7 separate regions of the Homo sapiens genome follow, and all the other regions are linked to region 1. The links are contacts of gene promoters, found by promoter capture Hi-C in blood cells and fetal thymus (Javierre and others, 2016). All regions are on one chromosome and are shown on one strand. Each heading gives the region's core, a stretch centred on a gene start or on the middle of the fragment in contact. The rest is flanking DNA. Distances are from core to core; before and after follow the strand shown. Region 1 holds the start of ENDOV (endonuclease V). Region 2 holds the start of CEP131 (centrosomal protein 131). Region 3 overlaps BAIAP2 (BAR/IMD domain containing adaptor protein 2). Region 4 overlaps BAIAP2 (BAR/IMD domain containing adaptor protein 2). Region 5 overlaps LOC124904077 (translation initiation factor IF-2-like). Region 6 holds the start of CHMP6 (charged multivesicular body protein 6). Region 7 overlaps RPTOR (regulatory associated protein of MTOR complex 1).

Evidence for each region. Contacts are between HindIII fragments. The CHiCAGO score rates a contact against its expected background, and 5 or more counts as called.
Region 2: a contact is called between the fragment with the promoter of CEP131 here and the fragment with the promoter of ENDOV in region 1, in 12 of 17 cell types (naive CD8 T cells, non-activated CD4 T cells, activated CD4 T cells and 9 more). The highest score is 18.3, in naive CD8 T cells.
Region 3: a fragment that was not itself captured here is called in contact with the fragment with the promoter of ENDOV in region 1 in 2 of 17 cell types (activated CD4 T cells and naive CD4 T cells); the score reaches 8.1 in activated CD4 T cells.
Region 4: a contact is called between a fragment that was not itself captured here and the fragment with the promoter of ENDOV in region 1, in 8 of 17 cell types (naive CD4 T cells, non-activated CD4 T cells, naive B cells and 5 more). The highest score is 8.8, in naive CD4 T cells.
Region 5: a contact is called between a fragment that was not itself captured here and the fragment with the promoter of ENDOV in region 1, in 3 of 17 cell types (naive CD4 T cells, activated CD4 T cells and total CD8 T cells). The highest score is 7.3, in naive CD4 T cells.
Region 6: the fragment with the promoter of CHMP6 here is called in contact with the fragment with the promoter of ENDOV in region 1 in 17 of 17 cell types (naive CD4 T cells, naive CD8 T cells, endothelial precursors and 14 more); the score reaches 40.3 in naive CD4 T cells.
Region 7: a contact is called between a fragment that was not itself captured here and the fragment with the promoter of ENDOV in region 1, in 15 of 17 cell types (endothelial precursors, total CD4 T cells, naive CD4 T cells and 12 more). The highest score is 18.6, in endothelial precursors.

The regions. Positions count from the first base shown.
Region 1 is chr17:80,413,830-80,416,469 of GRCh38, reverse strand. It overlaps ENDOV (endonuclease V), which reads right to left and starts at 1,303. Exons shown (of 10, transcript NM_173627.5): 1 at 1,220-1,303; 2 at 649-820. The coding sequence starts at 1,275. It overlaps RNF213-AS1 (RNF213 antisense RNA 1), which reads left to right and starts at 1,302. Exons shown (of 2, transcript NR_029376.1): 1 at 1,302-1,541. RefSeq lists an enhancer at 781-870. The HindIII fragment of the contact is 3,926 bases long and covers 1-1,859 here.
Region 2 is chr17:81,221,650-81,224,289 of GRCh38, reverse strand. CEP131 (centrosomal protein 131) reads left to right here and starts at 1,325. Exons shown (of 26, transcript NM_014984.4): 1 at 1,325-1,521. RefSeq lists silencers at 733-1,102, 1,263-1,592 and enhancers at 954-1,623, 1,624-2,293, 2,294-2,640. The HindIII fragment of the contact is 19,797 bases long and covers 1-2,640 here.
Region 3 is chr17:81,085,576-81,088,215 of GRCh38, reverse strand. It overlaps BAIAP2 (BAR/IMD domain containing adaptor protein 2), which reads right to left. Exons shown (of 14, transcript NM_001144888.2): 5 at 2,491-2,562; 6 at 1,636-1,773. Among named protein-coding and RNA genes, the nearest start is that of MIR657, 38 kb to the left of the region's middle. The HindIII fragment of the contact is 733 bases long and covers 965-1,697 here.
Region 4 is chr17:81,036,839-81,039,478 of GRCh38, reverse strand. The region is part of intron 1 of BAIAP2 (BAR/IMD domain containing adaptor protein 2); the gene reads right to left. Among named protein-coding and RNA genes, the nearest start is that of BAIAP2, 3.0 kb to the right of the region's middle. RefSeq lists enhancers at 1-256, 1,913-2,465. The HindIII fragment of the contact is 3,155 bases long and covers 1-2,640 here.
Region 5 is chr17:81,013,938-81,016,577 of GRCh38, reverse strand. It overlaps LOC124904077 (translation initiation factor IF-2-like), which reads right to left. Exons shown (of 1, transcript XM_047437254.1): 1 at 2,561-2,640. Among named protein-coding and RNA genes, the nearest start is that of BAIAP2-DT, 19 kb to the left of the region's middle. The HindIII fragment of the contact is 1,155 bases long and covers 711-1,865 here.
Region 6 is chr17:80,990,530-80,993,169 of GRCh38, reverse strand. CHMP6 (charged multivesicular body protein 6) reads right to left here and starts at 1,329. Exons shown (of 8, transcript NM_024591.5): 1 at 1,189-1,329. The coding sequence starts at 1,251. RefSeq lists silencers at 627-816, 827-976, 1,107-1,436. The HindIII fragment of the contact is 12,121 bases long and covers 1-2,640 here.
Region 7 is chr17:80,957,107-80,959,746 of GRCh38, reverse strand. It overlaps RPTOR (regulatory associated protein of MTOR complex 1), which reads right to left. Exons shown (of 34, transcript NM_020761.3): 29 at 2,017-2,123. Among named protein-coding and RNA genes, the nearest start is that of CHMP6, 33 kb to the left of the region's middle. RefSeq lists an enhancer at 1-360. The HindIII fragment of the contact is 3,760 bases long and covers 1-2,640 here.

The DNA of each region.
Region 1 (2,640 bases), core at 54-2,553:
CTAGTGTGCAACTGGACGCGAGAGGAACGGAGGGGCCCAGGAGGATGCAGATCTCCAGCTTGGGCAACTGGGAGCGTGGTGGACAGGTCACTGAGATGAAGAACCCAAGATAACAATCAGACTTGAAGATAAAGCTCATGAGCTGATTCTTAATAGTCACAGAATTCCCTTAATTTTTGCCTTTTTTTCCCTTCCAAGACTCCCCAGACTTTTTTTTTTTTTTTTTTTTTTTGAGATGGAGTTTCGCTCTTGTTGCCGAGGCTGGAGTGCAATGGCGTGATGTTGGCTCACCGCAACCTCCGCCTCCCGGGTTCAAGCGATTCTCCCGCCTCAGCCTTCCGAGTAGCTGGGATTACAGGTATATGCCACCACACCCGTCTAATTTTGTATTTTTAGTAGAGACCGGGTTTCTCCATGTTGGTCAGGCTGGTCTCGAACTCCCGACCTCAGGTGATTCCCCCGCCTCAGCCTCCCAAAGTGCTGGGATTGCAGGCGTGAGCCACCGCGCCCGGCCAACTCCCCAGACTATTAATGACATCCTACAAAACGAGAAGCCGGGTTCTACGCTTGCACTGCTCCCTGTCCCGGAGACCGCACGCCCGAGCCCACCGAGGGGCCCGCCTCGAGCTCGGCGTCCTCCCAGGTTACCTCGAGCTCAGGGAAGCTGAGCACCACCAGGGAAGCACAAGCGCGGACACTGTCCCCTTTCACGAAGGACACGTCAACGCCCCCGACCCTCTGCAGACCCGAGAAGGCGGGGTCTCGCTGCCACGCCTCGGTGTCCCGGTCTACGACGTGGGCCTTCAGCCGAGCTTGCTCCCTAGGAGGACAGAAGCGTCAAACTTGGTCGGGGTCACACCTCAGACTCTGCCTCCTCCACCCGCGCGGCTGCAGCGGACAGAGCGCCTCTGCCGGGTCTTCTCCCGCTTCAAGGGAAAGCAAGGGACATACCGCCGAGGCCACAGTCCCTAGGAGCCCAGGCGGCGGAGACCCGCGCAAGCGCAGGCCAGACAAACTGGCCGGAAGCGAGAACCGCGCCCACCCCGCGGACTACAATTCCTGAGATCCCTCCGCTTCCGCGCCGGAAACTGGGCTTTGCTTTGGAGTCTCGGGCGGTGGCAGCTCCGATTCCACAGCCTGAAGACTATGAGCTCGGAGGGTCCGCGAAGGGCCGCCCGGCCTCGGCCCCCGCCTCCTGCGCGTCGCCTGACAGCATTACCGTTTCCACAGTGACAGCGTTTCCTCCGGCGGCCCTCCCGCCGCCTCCAGGGCCATGGCTTCGTCCCGGGCACCCCTTCCGCACGTCACTTCCGGAAGCGACTCGCTCTGACGCCGTCCGCCCTCGTTGCCATGGAGACGCTTGCGCTTTCCCGGGCCGCACTTCCCACCCGGGTCTTCAGAAGCCCGTGGCCGCTGGGTGAGCCCCTGCGTGAACGCACACGCACGCACACGGCTTCAGGTTGCCCCGCGGCGCCGCGCGCGATATCGGCTCGGATCCCGGGAGGCCGTCCGCCCCTTTTTCAGCGGATAGCTGAGGCCAGGTAAGTGACCGCGCGAGGACCCGGGAACTCCGTGACGCCCGTCCCGCCTCTGCTGTCCCCGCCGCAAGCGCTGCGCTCTGCACGGCGAGAGGGGCCTCTTGCCCTGTTGAGAGCCGGCGGGCACGGCACTTCTGCGCTTGGAAAAGGGTGGTCCAGCACTGCAGGTCCCACTCCTTGGCCCGGTCAGCGTCCGCCTTTGCTGAACCCCGAAAGGATTCACCAGGTCCAGGACAGCCCGGCAGTTGCCTCAGGAGCACTTACTGAGCGCCTGTCGTTGACGCCCCCACCTCGATGGCAGCTCAGGGGTGCCCTCAAGCTTTTGAGGGCAGGTGTCGTGTATTTAAATTCTTCACAGTTTAGCGGGCTGGACTCACGGGGGTGCTGCAGACTTGGACGGGGTTTCATCTGGGTCGGACCTTGCTGGGCAGAAAGCTTCTCCTACCAGACAAAGTACGGCGACCTTGGGGGGTCTTGGTTCTTACCTCGTGTTCCTCATTGAATGAGTGTTGGTTCAGTGCTCTCGCTGTGCCAGGTGTTGTGCGAAGTACTGTGAGGGAGAATATGTATTTATTTGTGGGGAGCCGACTTTAAACCGGTGGTTGGGAAAGGCCTGAGAGGCGATATTGAAGACACCTGAAGGGTGAGTGAAAGAGCACGGCGGGTGAGTGGAGCAGCTTTCTCGTGCAGGTCCCGGGGTGGGAAAGAGGTTGGTGTATTTGAAGCACTGAAAGGCAGCCACTGAAGCTGAAGTGTAGCAGTTTAACCCATGGTTTTATATTCTCCTGGGAGGATTCAGAAGGGTGTATGTGTGTATGTATATATAATAGCCTGAATATAAACGTCAAGGGTGTTAGGTTTTGAAGGGAAGGTGAAGGTTAAAGAATGACGCACAGTGAGATTGCCGGCGCGCGGGCGGCTCTACAGCAACACAGGTGTATTGCAAACACCTGTCGGGGGCCAGCTTAATGCCAGAGCCCACCAGCGATTACAGGCTGGGGTACTCATAGGCCTGGGCAGGAGGGATCTAGGCAGTATGGCTTGCTGTCCGGGAAGATGTTAACGTGTTCCCAGGATGAGGTGGTTCCGGCAGAATGTGGTG
Region 2 (2,640 bases), core at 76-2,575, 810 kb before region 1:
GTCCCAAAGTTCTGGAATTACAGGTGGGACCCACTGCGCCCGGCCGGCAGTTTCTTATAAACAATCATTTGATCCAGCAACCCCACTCCTGGGTATTTACACAAGAGAAATGAAAAGTTGTGTCCACACAGAAGCCGATGAGTGAATGTTTATGGCAGCGTCATTCATAATTGCCAAGCACCAGGAACAATCTCTGCGTCCTTCATTTGATGAATAAAACCATCAATAAATAAAACCATCTGAACCGGTGGTTCACACCGGTTACAGGATACCACTCAGCAATAAAGAGGAACCAGCATGAATCTCAAAATGCGAAGTGGTAGAAGCCAGACCCACAGGCGCGCTGCGCGACATCCCTTTTGTGTGACATTCTGGAAAAGGCTGCCTCTAGGGATGGAGAACAGAGAGAACTGAGCAGCCGCCACCAGCAGTCAGCAGGTACGGGATCCGGAGGGAGAATGTTCTGTAACTAAAGTTACACAACTCCACTGCACACCAAAAAATGTGGATTTTACTGAAACCAAACTTTTTATTTTACAGAGCACTGGACTTTTTAAAAAGCGGGGGCAGGGGAGACCAGTGTGCTGTGACTTTTAGGGGAAGGATGGCTTCCCTGGAGAGGACCTGGGCGGAATCCCCAGGGCTCCCGGAGAGAGGGGGAGTCACAGAGCGGCTACGCACGGGGCGCAGCGTTAAAACTTTGGAGAAGGAAAAAAAACAACAAAGCAGCGCGAAGGGAAGGAGGTCAGGGAGGTTAGCAAGGCGCCCACACGCCCTCGCAGTCGTACTGAGTAACGAGGGGAGTCGCGCACGTGGGTGGGGACAGAGCGGCCTAGGACACTGGGGGAGCCCCGGGCCGCGGGAGTGCGGCGGCCTGGGGGTGTCGGGGAGCCGAGCCGAGGCCGCGTGCTCCTCGCGCCCTCCCTGGTGTCTCCTCCCCAGGCCCTGCGTGCCCCGCCCACACCTGCCTTGCCCCGCCCACATCTGCCTCGCCCTACTCGCCCATCACACCCCCACCTCACGCCCCGCCCACAACCGCTGGGGCCCCGCCCCTGCCCGGCCAGCTCCTCCCGCCGCCCTCGGTCCCCCGCCCCCTATATGACCCGCCCCTTTCCAGCCGCGTCCAATCGGCCGCTCTCTGTAGTCGCGTCCCTCAGCCATCCGCCGCTCCTCCCACGCTTGAACTTCCCGAAGGACAGCCGAGCGGCCCAATGAGCTCCCGGGACGGCCTGAGCGGGAGCGTGAAGGGCCAATCCGGAGTCGGCGCGCGCAGGAAAGGCGGGCCGGCGTGACGGGCTGGGGAGGTGGTGCCAGGCTGGTTGCTAGCTGCCGCCGCTGCTCACCCCGGCCGTCCGGCCGCTTCATTGTCACCGGGCCTCGGGGCAGTGTTGGGGGTGGCGGGGCGCCAGGTCGCCGACCCGAGGTTTGGGCGCGACTGGTTCCGCATCCCCTCCCCGCCGGCCGAATCTGCAGGCCCCGCGCGCCAGGCAGGCTTCGCGGCTGCGCCCCCGGCCCGCGCAGGTGAGGGGGGCCCGGGCAAGGGAGGGGGTTGCAGGGCGCACGGAGGTTGGAGGGGTCCGGAGCCCGCGCAGGTGGGAGGCCCTGGTCCAGTGATGAAGTGATGGGGATCCGGGGCACGCACAGGTGAGTGGGGGGATCTGGTGCCCGCGCAATTGAAGGCGGGATCCGGGGGAAGTGAGGGGGATCCAGGGTGCGCACAGGTGAGGGAGGTCCGGGGCCCGCGCAGGTGAAGACAGGCTCGTGCCTGAGGGTGTGGGTCCCCACCTCCATCCCCTCCACCCTCTCCACCTCCCTCCACTCCCCTCCGGTCCCCAGGACAACATGGAGTCCAGTCCCGGCATCTCTGGCCCGGCTGCCTTAAGCCCTGGGGAAAATGGGGAGATGGGAGCTGCCCTGAGGACAAGTGGAGGGCTCTGCTCTGCGCGTGGGCTCTGGCCTCTCTGTCCAGGGTCAGGGTCAGGGTCAGGGTCAGCCCACCCTGGGAACCAGGTCCTGGCGCTGGTCATCAGTCCCCGCCCCTTCAGGTCCTGGGAGGGACACAGTTTTATCCAAGATGTAGTGGCCTCCCAGGCCTCCCTTCTTCTGGCTTGGAGGTTTCCATGGAGAGGCCCCGTTCGCCATCCCAGAGCCGCTTGCAAGTGTGGCTGGGAGAGCAGAGTCCTGGGCTCCAAGGGCTTGCATGGGTCCAGCCAGGGGTGGACAGTGCCCTGCAGGAGGAGGGTGTTAAGTTTCTTCCGCACAGCCGGAAGTGCATAACTGAGGACTGGGACCTGGTCAGTGGCAGGGTCAGCCTCTAGGGAGTAGGGGTATCCATCGCTCCGTGGAAGGGACCTTGGGGGACCTGCTGTGGGGTGCCGGGCTGAAGGAAGCCCAGGGTGACCTTGGGCGATAGGCTGGGTGCCTGCTGGCCTACTGGAGGCCACCGTGGCAGGGAGGTAATTCTCGAGGTTGGTCCCTGGCGCCAGCTTCTCCCGTTCATCTACGGGTTCAGCTGAGTGCCTTTCCCTGCAGGTGCTGGGGTTGCTCAGGAGCCACACAATTCATAAACCAACTGTGTGCGGCCACAGGAAGGGAGTCCGAGCCGGATGGGGAGTGAAGAGTGATGGGTGCTCAAGGAAG
Region 3 (2,640 bases), core at 82-2,581, 670 kb before region 1:
GGCCTCGGTGCTCAGGGCTGGCTCACACCTGCACTGTCCTGACCTGCTCGGAGGCGGCTATGGCCCTCCAGGCCGCAGGGGTGCCGTCCGCTGCTTGTCTTCAGAAAGCAAAGTAGCAAAACGTTCCACGGTGGGAGGAAGAAGAAAAACAGACACAGTGTCTACCAACATATACCTATTTCTCCTCCTCAACTCCCCATGCCCACTGCTCAGGTTCTGTTCACAGAAACAGCTTGAGGACGGCTCGCTGCAGCAGCCTCAGGCAGGAATACTAAGGCCACCATGATGGGCCCATCATAGAAAGACCCATGATGGCAGCTTACCCGGAGTGCAAAACGGAAAGGATCAAAAGACCCATCACAGCTTACCTGGAGTGAAAAACAGGATCAAAACAAAGGCTGGGGACACGGGAAGAGGTGGCTGGAGAGGGCAGGGCACCCTAGAGAACGGCCTGAGTTGCGTCCCTGCAACTGTGCACCAAGCATGCCTGAGTGGGAGGCTGCAAACAGCAGCGGGCACCCGAGGGACCCCCAGCTCCCCCGTATGGCTGTTTCCACAGACTCTCACTTATCCTTCTCATCTGCCCCTGGCCTAGTCCCGTCCTCTCCTTTGGGGCCGATCCAGCTCCACCAGGCGACCCCACACTGGAAATCTTCTGGCTTGGTCTGCAGGGTGTGGGCAGACCTGCTTGGCTTCCCTGCAGTTAAGCAGGGAGCGGGGGCACAGGCTCTGAGCAGGAACCGGCCTCCCAGTCCCAGGGCGAGGCCACAGCCACTCATGAGCACCCACATCCGGCACCAAGGAGACGGTCGCACACACACACGCAGACACACGCACACGGGCAGGTGTGTGCGGGGCTTGCCAAGGCTTGAAAACCTGACTGCCAGCAGGAAGGGTGCGGCCTGGAGGCCCGGGCTTCACCCACAGCCACACCTTGCCCACCCCAGGGTGCAGCCCAGAAGCTTCTACCTGGGTGACTGGCCAGGGGTTTTCCTGATGTTTCCTTTACACACGACTGGGCATCTTGTTTTGTGTTTCTTTCTCTTCTGTATCACTATGACCCCAGCAAGTGGGCGAGGGGTTTCTGGGTCTGGCCTGTGTCAGCCACCATCCAGGTTCTGGTGTACACACATCAGGCCGTGCCTGTCATCGGCCAGGCCTTCCTACGTCCCAGCCCACTCAGCACGCAGCACCGGTGACGCCGGCGGGACGGTGAGAGAAACAACACCGAAGCCGCTCCCTCGAGGAACCTGAAGTACCACCTTCCCTCGAGTGGCCAGCCCTGCAGGCGGAGGCCACGACCGCTTAGAGGAACAAACTGGGACCGGACTCCCGGGCAGGGATGGGGAGAACAGAGGGGAGGACTCCATTTAGGTTTCTGCTCCTTCAGCCAAGAACCTTTCAGTGACCCTGGGAGGCTGCAAGAGCAGGACAGAGCCCCACAGGTGAGCCGACCATCCCACCGGCCTGGGGGCGTCAGGCCCACCGCTCCCGAGGTCTACCAGGGACACACAGCCTGCCTCTGTCTGATCGCACCTGGGGGGCTGCTGTCCACTCCCTGTGGACGAGGGGGGCCGAGGGGTGAGCAGTCCCAAGGTGGCAGGAGAGGCACCACAGCGGGGGTGGCGGGCCTACCTGCAGCTCCTTGTCCGAGTACTTCTGAGGATTCTTGCTGCCCTGGCTCTTCTTCCGAAGCTTCTTCAGCTCAGCCTGACACTTGTCCAGGGCGTCGCCTTTGCTCCTTTGCTCAGTCTGGTATTTCTTCAGCGCAGCCTGAGATTCAAACAATAAAACACAAAACCAAGGCCCATGAACCCAACGCAGCGCGGACCACTGGCAGCAAAACCGAGGCCCATGAGCCCAACGCAACGGGGTCCCCTTGCCAGCCCTGCCACTCCCTTCCTGGCTCGCTCTCTGGCCGTGCATGCTCAGCTGCAAATCAGAGTTGGGGAGAGCCCAAATGAAGCCTCAGCCCGACCCCACCCAACCCCATAGCAGCTCTCTGGTCGCCCAAGATGAAAATCACACTTGGAAAAAGTGGCCGAGGCCCACCCCTCCCGCCCACCACTGAGAGCCAGAGGTGACCCTCAAACCCTCAAGCAGTGCCTCAGCCCCAAGCCTTCCTGCCAGCGGACAGGAGTGGCGGTGGGGCAGGACGGGCCGAGAGCCCAGGGAACTGCAGAGGCCAGAGAAGGAGCTCCTGCACTCCCCGGCAGCAGAGTCAGGCACCAGCTTCACCGCAAGTGGCCAAAGCCGGGGCATGGAACCAGGCATGTGGGGCGTCAGAGGCAACGGATTCACCCACAGGTTGCATTTGGGGCACACCAGGGGCACTCGGTCCCAAATGGACAATAAAGTCAGAGCTGGGGCCCATGTGGACGGGGAGCTCGGGGAAGTGGGAAGCCTTCAGGCCGAGGAAGGAGTGGCAGGCATTTGGGAGAGCCGGAGCCCAGGCACAGGGCCCAGCAGGCACGGCCAGGGTGCACTTACACTCAGATACCTGGAGTCCAGCTCCACCTTCTGCTCCAGCTGCGTAAGCAGCTCGTTGTGAAAAGACTTCAGCTGGACATGGAGAGAAAACACATCAGCCGTCAGCTCCAACACATGGACCCGGAACAGGAGGCAGGGCAGGGCTAGAGC
Region 4 (2,640 bases), core at 78-2,577, 620 kb before region 1:
CGCCACATCCCAGAACGCCTGGCCACATCCATCGGTAGACACGGACTTCATGCAGCCACCAACGGCACAGCAGGCATGGGACACCAAGCGAACGCTGGACGCCACCTGGAGCCAGCAGGCATGGGACGCTGAGCAAGCACCAGCAGAAGGGTTGTACACCCTGGAGCCAACAACCGGCAGGACAGTGCCTGGGGCCAAAGCCCACACAGGCTGGGCAGCCCAGAGGGCAGCATGACACGGCAGCCGGTCTTTGTGCCCTGGCCACCCCACCAAGGGGACCACATCAGCACTGCTCCTGGGAGACGTGCCCCCTGCTAAAGGCTGGCGGTGGCGAGGGCGGGTAACACAGACATGCACATGTAGAGAAAATGCAGGCCAGGTCTACTCAGTGACAGCAGACCCAGCCACCCTGCGGCAAGATGGTGCCCATGGGGGCCACCCCAGGAAGTATCCTTAAACACAAAGCACTGCATGCACGTGTGCACACACGGACACACATACACATGTACACGCGCACGGAGCTGGGTCCAGCACTGTGATTTCTCTCCTCCTCAGGTGCCGGGTCTGCTGCCCCCCCCACCCAGGAAGGCGACTCCAATGCCAGGAGGTGCCTGTCAGCAGGAGGTGCCTGTCAGAGACCACCCCCCACCGTCTCCAAATGGAGGGGATGGTGAGCTCTGCACACCCCAGGAAGAAGCTGGATGTGGCAGAGAGGAACAGCCAGGCCCGGGCAGCCGGGCACGGAGCAGAAAAGCCGGCAGTGTGCTCCCTGCCACCCAGCACATGACGCCCACCACCTGGCGCCAGCCCTTACCAATCACACCAGAGGCGGCAAACCCAACTGGCTCCTGGCTCCAGGAACCCTGTGGCACCCGTCTCCTCGAAGCACGGCTGCGGCCCCGCCAGGCTGGCTTCCCCACCAGCTGCTAGAGTGACCAGCCAGGGCCAAGAGCCTCGGCACAAGGAAGGCCATGGCCACGTCTGCAACAGGGACTCCTCCTCCTCCCCAGATGCTCTCTCAACCTCACATATTCTAGGACAGGCTGTGGGCCAATGGCACTATGCCCAGAGAAGGTGGTGGAGCCGCCACACTCCAGGTCATGGGTCACCTGGGAGCCAGGGCTTCTCTGCGGACACGAGACCTTGAGGAAAACACCCACCTGACATTCTCCTGGCATTCCAGGAGACACAGCCAGCCAGGGAGCCAGCCCCTCAGCACACAGGGATGCACGGGGCTTCCCCAAGAGGGCTGCAGCTTCAGTAGCCTTAATTCCAAAGGCCACCGGGGGAGGCAGATTCCAGCACTCCATCCCTCCATCTGGGCCACTACCCAGGGCAACCTGAGCAAGCGCTGGGCCCGGGCTCCTGTGGAGGAAGGGGTCTTCCGCGCCTTGCCCTCCCAACACCTGCAGGGCCCAGCCCACGCAGTGCCCCCAGAAGGTCTGAGATTATGTTCTCGGCAAACACCGGGAAGCCGTTCCACTCCCCTCCCCTTCATCTTCCATGAAATTCCCCGAGGACACAGCTCCCAAGGGAATGGAGCCACCAGAAAAGAGGTCAAAGTCTGCGTTACGGATTCTTACGGGGAAGAAAATCAAAACTGCACTTTTTATTCTCGCATTTTTAATCACCAAGGCCAAGGACAAGCGTCCTCCTTTGCCAAGGCAAACACCACTCAGAACTGCAGTTAAGGCGATGCAATGTCCAAACCAAACCAAACAGCTGAGCCGCATCGCGGGTGACACTAAGCAGGCCACAGCACAGCCGTTCCAAGAGGCACTGCCAGGGCTCTGCAAGCCGCCAACCCAGGCACAGGAGCGGCCCCGGGAAGGGATGCCAGAGGCAGCACCGTCCCAGGAGAGGACAGAGCTCAGCACTGCCTGGACCGGCTGGACCGGCCCAGGAGTGCACACCGGTGGCCTCAGCGGTCTCCTGACTATGTCTCCATGTGGGCTGAGTTTCTGCCTGGCTGACATTGCCAAAAGCTGCCCAACCAGTACCGGCACTACCAAGGCACCTTGAGCTCCCCAGTGACAAAGCACAAAAAGGTCTCAAAGACTCAGCAGTCAGGCTCCCGGAGTGGCAGCAGGAGCCACCTACCTACAAAACCAACCCCGCCTGTGTGCAGCAGCAGCAGCGCAAGCCTGTCACCAGGGCAAAGCCTTTCCAGAGTGGATCGACCCTTCAGACACCTGCGGCCCACCGCGTCCTGCCGTGCTAAATCAAATCATCAACCGCCACATCTTCACTTGGGAAAATCACCAATTAACCCACCCGTGGAAGACAAAACGCAGAACCTGTGTGTTTCACGTGCTCCAGACCAGCTGGTCTGCGTCCACAGGGGCTCAAAGTCCCCAAACACTCAGTCCTAAGAGTTTTCCTGCCAGCAGATTTCACTTAGACCTGCAGATAAATTACAGCTTCACCTAGGTGAAGGCCTACTGCCCGGTTAGGAGAGTTTTATTAAGGACGATCACGGGGTCGGTCCCCCAGAGCAAAACCACTCCATGTACTCACCCCCTGCCAACTCTCACCACGAAAGTTCCTGCTTTCTGGTTTCAGCGCAGAAGGAGAAAAAATAGGAAAAAGGTTCCGCTGGTACTTCTCTTCCACCCTCTGCAATCACAAACAAGTCGTAAT
Region 5 (2,640 bases), core at 39-2,538, 600 kb before region 1:
TAATGGCCTTATGTGGTCTTAGGGTCAAGGTAATGTTGAACTCATAAAAGGAATTGCAAAGTGTTCTCTCCTCTTCTATTTTCTTTAAGAGTTTGTGTAGAATTGGTATTAAGTCTTCCTTAAATGTTTGGTAGCATTTAATAGACATATGACAATTTGGTTTACCTATTTAATCTTGAGTGAACTTTGGCAGTTTGAGTCTTTCAAGGAATTTTCCCATTAAATCTAAATTGTCAAATTTATGAGCATAAAACTGTTTGTAATATTTCATATTTACTTTTTTCTTTCTTTCTTTTTTTTTTTTTTTTTGAGATGGAGTCTCACTCTGTCACCCGGGCTGGAGTACAATGGCGTGATCGTGGCTCACTGCAATCTCCACGTCCTGTGTTCAAGTGATTCTTCTGCCTCAGCCTCCCAAGTAAGTGGGATTACAGGTGTCTGCCACCATGCCCGGCTATTTTTTTTGTATTTTTAGAAGAGATGGCATTTCACTATTTTGGCCAGGCTGGTCTCAAACTCCTGACCTTGTGATCCACCCGCCTCGACCTCCCAAAGTGCTAGGATCACAGGCGTGAGCCACCGTGCCCAGCTGTAATATTTCCTTAATATCTTTTTCATGTCTATAGGGTCTGGGGTGGTGTTCCCACTTTCATTGCTAATGTTGTAATTTGTATCTTCTCTTTTTTTCCTGATCACTCTAGCTTGAAGCTTTTCAAATTTATTGATATTTTCAAATAACCAGTTTTTGCTTTCACTGATTTTTCTCTGATGTTCTGTTTTCATTTCTGCTGATGTCCACTCACTATTGTTTCTTTTCTCCTGCTTGCTTTGGATCTGCTCTTCTTTTTTGAATTAATTAAGGTGAAAGTTTAGCTAACTGATTTCAGACTTTTCTTCTACCTTAACATAAGCATTTAATATTCTAAGTTTTCCTCTAAACACTGTTTTAGCAAGAATCCATAAATGTTAATATGTTTAGTTTTCATTTTCTTTCAGTTAGAAACAGCCTCTAAATTCCCTTGTGATTTTCTATTTAACTCACAGGTTAATTTAATATTTGTGGATTTTCCAGATAGCTCTTTGTTACTGGCTTTTGGATTGATATTATGGTCAGAGAACATGCTTTGTGTGAGTTCAATTCCTTTAAATTAGTTAAGGTTTATTTCATGGTCCAGAACATGATATGTCTTGGTAAATGTCCAATATGCACTTGAATAGAATGTGTATTCTGCTGTTGCTGGGTGGAATGTTCTATAAATGTCAGCTGAGTCAAACCAGTTAACAGTGTTCAGGTGTCCTATATCCTTCATGATTTTCTATTTATTCTCTCAATTACTGAAAGAGGGGCCAGGAACAGTAGACTATGCCTGTAATCGCAGCATTTTGGGAGGCCAAAGCAGGAGGTTCACTTGAACCCAGGAGTTCAAGACCAGCCTGGGTAACATGACAAGAGCCCGTCTCTACAAAAATAAAAAAATTAGTGGCCGGGTGCGGTGGCCCACGCCTGTAATCCCAGCACTTTGGGAGGCCGAGGCGGGCGGATCACGAGGTCAGGAGATCGAGACCATCCTGGCTAACACGGTGAAACCATGTCTCTACTAAAAATACCAAAAATTAGCCGGGTGAGGTGGCGGGCACCTGTAGTCCCAGCTACTCAGGAGGCTGAGGCAGGAGAATGGCGTGAACCCGGGAGGTGGAGCTTGCAGTGAGCCGAGATCACGCCACTGCACTCCAGCCTGGGCGACAGAGCGAGACTCTGTCTCAAAAAAAAAAAAAATTAGCTAGGTGTGGTGGCATGTACCTATAGTCCCAGCTGCTCGGGAGGCTGAGGCAGAAGGATCACTTGAGCCCAGGAGGTTGAAGCTTCAGTGAGCCATGTTTGTGCCACTGCACTCCAGCGTGGGTGACAGAGCAAGACCCTGACTAAAAACAACAACAAAATACTGAAAGAGGAGGGTGAAAGTCTCTAACTGTAAGAAATTGTTTTACCTTTCATTTCTGTTAGTTTTTGCTTCATGTGTTTTGAAATTCTATTGTTAGGTGAATACACAATTTGGATTGTTTTGCCTTCTTTTATTATTGAGTAATGTCTCTCATTATCCCTGTTGATATTTGTTTTGAATATACATTGCCTGATATTAACACAACTACTCCATCTTTCTTTTGATTAGGGTTTCTGTGATATATTTTCCCCATCCTTTTACTTGTTTGTTCTGAGATGCAGTCTGGCTCTGCTGCCCAGGCTAGAGTGCAGTGGTGTGATCTTGGCTCACTGCAACCTCCCCATCCTGGGTTCAAGTGATTCTCCTGCCTCAGCCTCCTGAGTAGCTGGGATTACAGGTGCACGCCACCATGCCCGACTAATTTTTGTATTTTTAGTAGAGATGGGGTTTCACCATGTTGACCAGGCTGGTCTTGAACTCCTGACCTCAAGTGATCTGCCTGCCTCAGCCTCCCAAAGTGCTGGGATTACAGGAATGAGCCATCACTCCCGGCCTGTTGATTGTCTTTTTGTATTAGGTCATTCTTGCACTGCTATAAAGAAATACCTGAGACGGGGTCATTTATAAAGAAAGGCTTATTGGTTCGTGGTTCAGCAGGCTGTACAGGAAGCACAGCGGCATCTGCTTCTGGAGAGGC
Region 6 (2,640 bases), core at 80-2,579, 580 kb before region 1:
AGAGCCCACAGTGACCCTTGGCAAGTGGAAAGCTGTGCTTGAAGAGAAACCGGAGCTGAGTCCTTAAAGAGAGGGGAGGGAGTGCCTTGGGGCTGGCAGGGTAGGTGGAAGGTGGACGATGGAGGCTGGGTCCAGCTGTCTTGCAGGCAGCTCGGGACGGTGCCCAGCGCTGTGCCCATCTTCTCTAGGGACAAATGTGCCCGTTGTTTCTTTTCACAGCTTATGGACTCAGATGCCAACGTAAGATTCCCTCTTTCATTTACATTCGCTTCTCTTTTAGTATAAAATTAACCTATTTCTGTTGCACAAAATTTAGAAAAGAAAGCATCCGAAAAAGCTAGCCCTGCTTTCATTTCGGGGTCTCTTTCGTGACACGTTTATCTCGTTACAAAAATGGACTATTCTTAACCCGCCCTGTCCCTGACATGCCAGGCGATTCCTCCTCCTACAGAAGCTAACTTTCACATGGGAAAAGGCACCACCACCGGCCCGGCTGTGCCCCGGGGGGTCAGTCTGGAGTCGCCGCAAACAAACGCGCCAAACACGGTGGTCCCGTACCCAGGCGCTGCGGAAGCCCGGCAGGACCCCGGCAGGACCCCGGCAGGCGTTCGGCGCACCTGTCGGCCGCTCCTCGGACCAGGGCAGACTTCCTTCCAGTCCTGGCCTGGATGGGGTGAGGGAGAGGGGATGCCCCGCGCTGCCTCGCGAAGCCGGCAGCACCGCCGGGGCTCCGGCCCAGGGCACCAGGAGGCAAATGAGCCGCGGGACGGGGGCGGGGGCAGCGACTCCGGGAGAGCCGGGACCTGCTCCCGCGGGCCCAGAGCCAGGGAAAGCCCAGCGCCGCGCGGACCCCACGGACGGGCCGCCAGGCTGTGGCCGAGCCCCGAACGCCGGCGTCGAATCCCGCAGTCACCAGCCGCGCCCACCCCGGCGGGGCTCGCAGAGGCGGACGCGCGGGCCCCGGGGAAGACGGCAGCCACGGCGCCGCGCAGGAGACCCCGGCCCGAGGCCCCGCGGGCGAGGAGGGACGCAGGGCGGAGAGACCGAGGGGCCCGGCTGCGCGCTGCGCCTCAGTTTCCCCATCCGAACGCGGGGGGCCGAGGGCGCGGGGCTCTTCCGGCCCCGCCGCCCGCCCCGGCCCCGTCGCCTGTCCCGGCCCCAGCCCTGACCCCGGGCCCGGGCCCTCACCAGGATGGCCTTGTCCTGCTCCGTGACGCGGCTCTGCTTCTTGCGGCCGAACAGGTTACCCATGGCGGCGCCCGCCCCTGGCCCGGGACCCACCAAGTCCAATCGCCACCGCCGCCCCGCGGCCACCGTAGCTCGGGTCCTCCCGCTACGGCGGCCGCGCCGGGCCAGGCGCCGCGGAACGCGAAGGCCGAGCGCCGCCTCCGGCCGCGCGCCGTTGCCGCGGGTTCGAAACCACAGCCCGCCGGTCTCGGCGACCGCCGCGAACACCGCGGCCTCCTTGGACCGGTACGGAGAAGTGGCACGGATACCTGGATGTTAGGGCCCGCGATGTTCGGGCCCGGGATGTTCTAAATGACGTGTTTCCGTGCACCCTTCCTGTGCAGGTGAAGGCAAAAATTTCTTATCTCCTAATTAGGTGGGATCCTTTTAGATTAACATAATTCAGTCTCCCCAGGCTTTCAGGAATCTTGTGCAGGAATCACTGTCCCACTGGCTCTGAACACAAAATGCCGCATTAATGATGTGATATCCAACGTTTTGCACTTTTTTTTTTTTTTTTTTTTTTAGATGGAGTCCTGCTCTGTCGCCCAGGGTGGAGTGCAGGGGCGCTATCTCGGCTCACTACAAACTCTGCCTCCCGGGTTCAAGTGATTTTCCTGCTTCAGCCTCCTGAGTAGCTGGGACTACAGGTGCCTGCTGCCACACCCGGCTAATGTTTGTTAGTAGAGACGGGGTTTCACCATATTGGCCAGGCTGGCCTTGAGCTCCTGACCTTCTGATCCACCCACCTCGGGCTCCCAAAGTGCTGGGATGACAGGCGTGAGCCGCCGCACCCGGCCCGCTTTGCACTTTAAAATGTTCCCTGAAATGCGACCAGCAGCGCCCTCCACCCAGCCTTTCAGCCCTGGGATCTTCCCTCTTCCACTGCGCTGCTCCCTGTCTGTAGATCAGTGCCAGGAGGAGACCAGCATGGCTGGGCTCAGCTTCTCCTTCCAAGGAATCGTGGCTGCGTCCCCCACAGAAGCATTCTTCCCTGGGGGGCTAAGAAACACATGAATGGGGATAAAGGGTAAAAGGGAGAAGCCACCCCGGTTCCCGCCTGAGTATCCTGACTGTGGTTCCTGAGCATTCACTAAGTGTCAAAGAAAAGCACTCAGCTGAGGATGGCTTGAGGCCAGGAGTTCAAGACCAGCCTGGCAACATAGCAAGACCCCCGTCTCTACAAAAAATATAACAAATAACATCAAAAGGAGAATAATTATCACCTGTTCCAAACCTCTGGACTCCAGAACCTTCACTGAGGTGAGGGGGCCCCTGAATTTTTGTGGGGTTCATCTCCCACCCTCTGATTTGTCTCACCAAGACATCTGAAGTACTTTTTTCCTTGGTGTCCATGGGGACGTTGAGGAAAAAAAAAAAAAAGACTTGCTACTCCCTGCTCCTCATGAAGGG
Region 7 (2,640 bases), core at 63-2,562, 540 kb before region 1:
GACTGGCTGTCAGTGCCAATTAAACTTCCAACCTCTCTCTGTTTCCTAAAAAGGAAAGCAAAGCACATTTTGGCAAGGACTCCTCACTGGCTGCGTCTCAGAACTTCTAATGAGCTATGGGACGAGTCCAGGAGGGGTCATCTGGCTCCCTCGGGGGCTCTAAGTGCTGGAGAAGCGGGGGCGGGGGCGATGGCACCTGCCAGGGACGCAGGAGGAAAAGGGCCACGAGAGGGAGAGCGCTTTCCACGCACGATGGGCGGTGCTGGGTTGTGCACTCCAGGAGGAAACACAGGCGTGGGGATGATGGGGCCAGACCCCTGCGAGGGGCAGAGCCGGCTCTGGGAGCACCTGCTGCGCTCTGTGCCTCCACCCACCTCTGCAGGAACAGCACCTGCCCCGCAGGCCACCTGGGCCTCTAAGCCCCCACTGGTGACCAGACCCTGAGGATCAGGGTGTCCACGCTGTGCCCTGAGGGCTACGTCTCGTGTGGAGCCACAGCTCCAGACAGGTGCAAGACCCCCCCACCCCAAAGAAGGTGCCATGAAAGCTGCTGGTGCCTCGAGGGATCCACGGTCACGTCAGAGGGGAGGCTGCCCACACGGGAAGGCCTGGGCCAGGTTCTCGGGCTGCTGCTGCCCAGAGCAACCACAGCAGCTTCGAGCAGCTGAGGGTGCCCAGGCCTCCCCTCTGCTGGGCCTGCTCCACACCGCCCTCTACGGCAGCAGGGCTGAGCCATCCCTCCTGACACCAGATGGCCTGCCCGGGAGAGAGGCTGGGTATGGCCTCTGTGCCACACCTCTCCCTGGGGACCCAGAGGAAGGGAATACTGGCTCTAAAGCCACCTCAGGCGCTGCCCCTCACAGTATCTGTGGTCTCGCCTCTGCTCCAAATGAAGTCAATGCAGTTAGATTTCTGCTGAGCGCGGCCTGCTTAGGTCTCTACCACTTTTCCAGGCTGTCTTGGGCAAAACCAATGTACTCCGCTTTTTGTCAAAACTGAAAATAGCAGATGCTTTAAGAAGCAAAGAGGCTTCTGGCCGGGCGCAGTGGCTCACGCCTGTAATCCCAGCACTTTGGGAGGCTGAGGTGGGCGGATCACGAGGTCAGGAGATAGAGACCATTCTGGCTAACACGTGAAACGCCGTCTCCACTAAAAATACAAAAAAAAAATTAGCTGGGCGTGGTGGTGGGCGCTTGTAGTCCCAGCTACTCGGGAGGCTGAGGCAGAAGAATGGCATGAACCCAGGAGGCGGAGCTTGCAGTGAGCCGAGATCGCGCCACTGCACTCCAGCCTGGGCGACAAGGCAAGACTCTGTCTCAAAAAAAAAAAAAAAAAAAAAAAGAAACAAAAATCTTCTGTCTTCTGTAGCGGCTCACACCTATAATCCCAGTGCTTTGGGAGGCCAAGGCAGGAAGATTGCCGGAGCCAGGAATTCGAGACCAGCTTGGGCAAATACTGAGACCCCTGTTTCTACAAAAAGTTAAAAAAATTAGCCAGGCGTGTGGGTGCATGCCTGTAGTCCCAGCTACTTGGTGGTGGGGGGGGGGGGTGAGGTGGGAGGATCACTTGGACCAGGAGGTTGAGGCTGCAGTGAGCTGTGATTGCACGACTGCACTCCAGCCTGGGTGACGCAGGGTGACAGAGTGAGACCCCATCTCAAAAGAAAAAAAAAAACGCCTCCAAATAATTAATCATTCTAATTTACAATTGGTCACCCTACTGATTTCTGACATTCCTTAATTTGCAGAGAGAAGACACTACTTGCAAACACTCAGAGCTGGCGCAGCCTGAGCCATACTGCAGCGCAGGGCTGGGTGTTGCAGTTCACCTTCATCCAGAGGCCTCAGGGAGCCCACGTCTCCTCCCAGCATTGTCCCGGCACTGTCCTCCCAGGCCCTGACTCCACCCCTGGGATGGCCAGGCCTCACCGCACACTTTGCTGGGTTCTGTGACGAGGACCAGCCCTGCACACACTGCCCCACAGGCCCAGGGCTTGGGGGACACCTGCATGGTTACCTGCACCTTCATCTCACGGTCTGTGTCCCAGATCCGGACGATCCGCACGTCTCCTGAGCTCATGAGGAGGCCGGTCTCCTGCTCCCAGTCCACCACCATCCCAGCTCCTGGAGAGATACAGTGGGACATGGCATCACCCCATGGGCCCTTGCCTTGGGCAGGCTTTGGGGCCTGCTCTGGGCAGCAATTTGGCCAGCAGCTACAAGGTACCCCTGCCACCATCGAGCCCATCTGGTGGGTCCATATGCCTCATATGAGCTCCCGCTAGGGACCCTGGTGTGCCCCACGTCCAGGCTGGGGTGACAATTCTGAGCTGGAACTCCCAAGTCCGGGCCGGGATGACAATTCTGAGCTGGAACTCCCAAGTCCAGGCTGGGGTGACAGTTCTAAGCTGGAACTCCCAAGTCCAGGCCGGGGTGACAATTCTAAGCTGGAACTCCCAAGTCCAGGCCGGGGTGACAGTTCTAAGCTGGAACTCCCAAGTCCAGGCCGGGGTGACAATTCTAAGCTGGAACTCCCAAGTCCAGGCCGGGGTGACAGTTCTAAGCTGGAACTCCCAAGTCCAGGCCGGGGTGACAATTCTAAGCTGGAACTCCCAAGTCCAGGCCGGGGTGACAGTTCTAA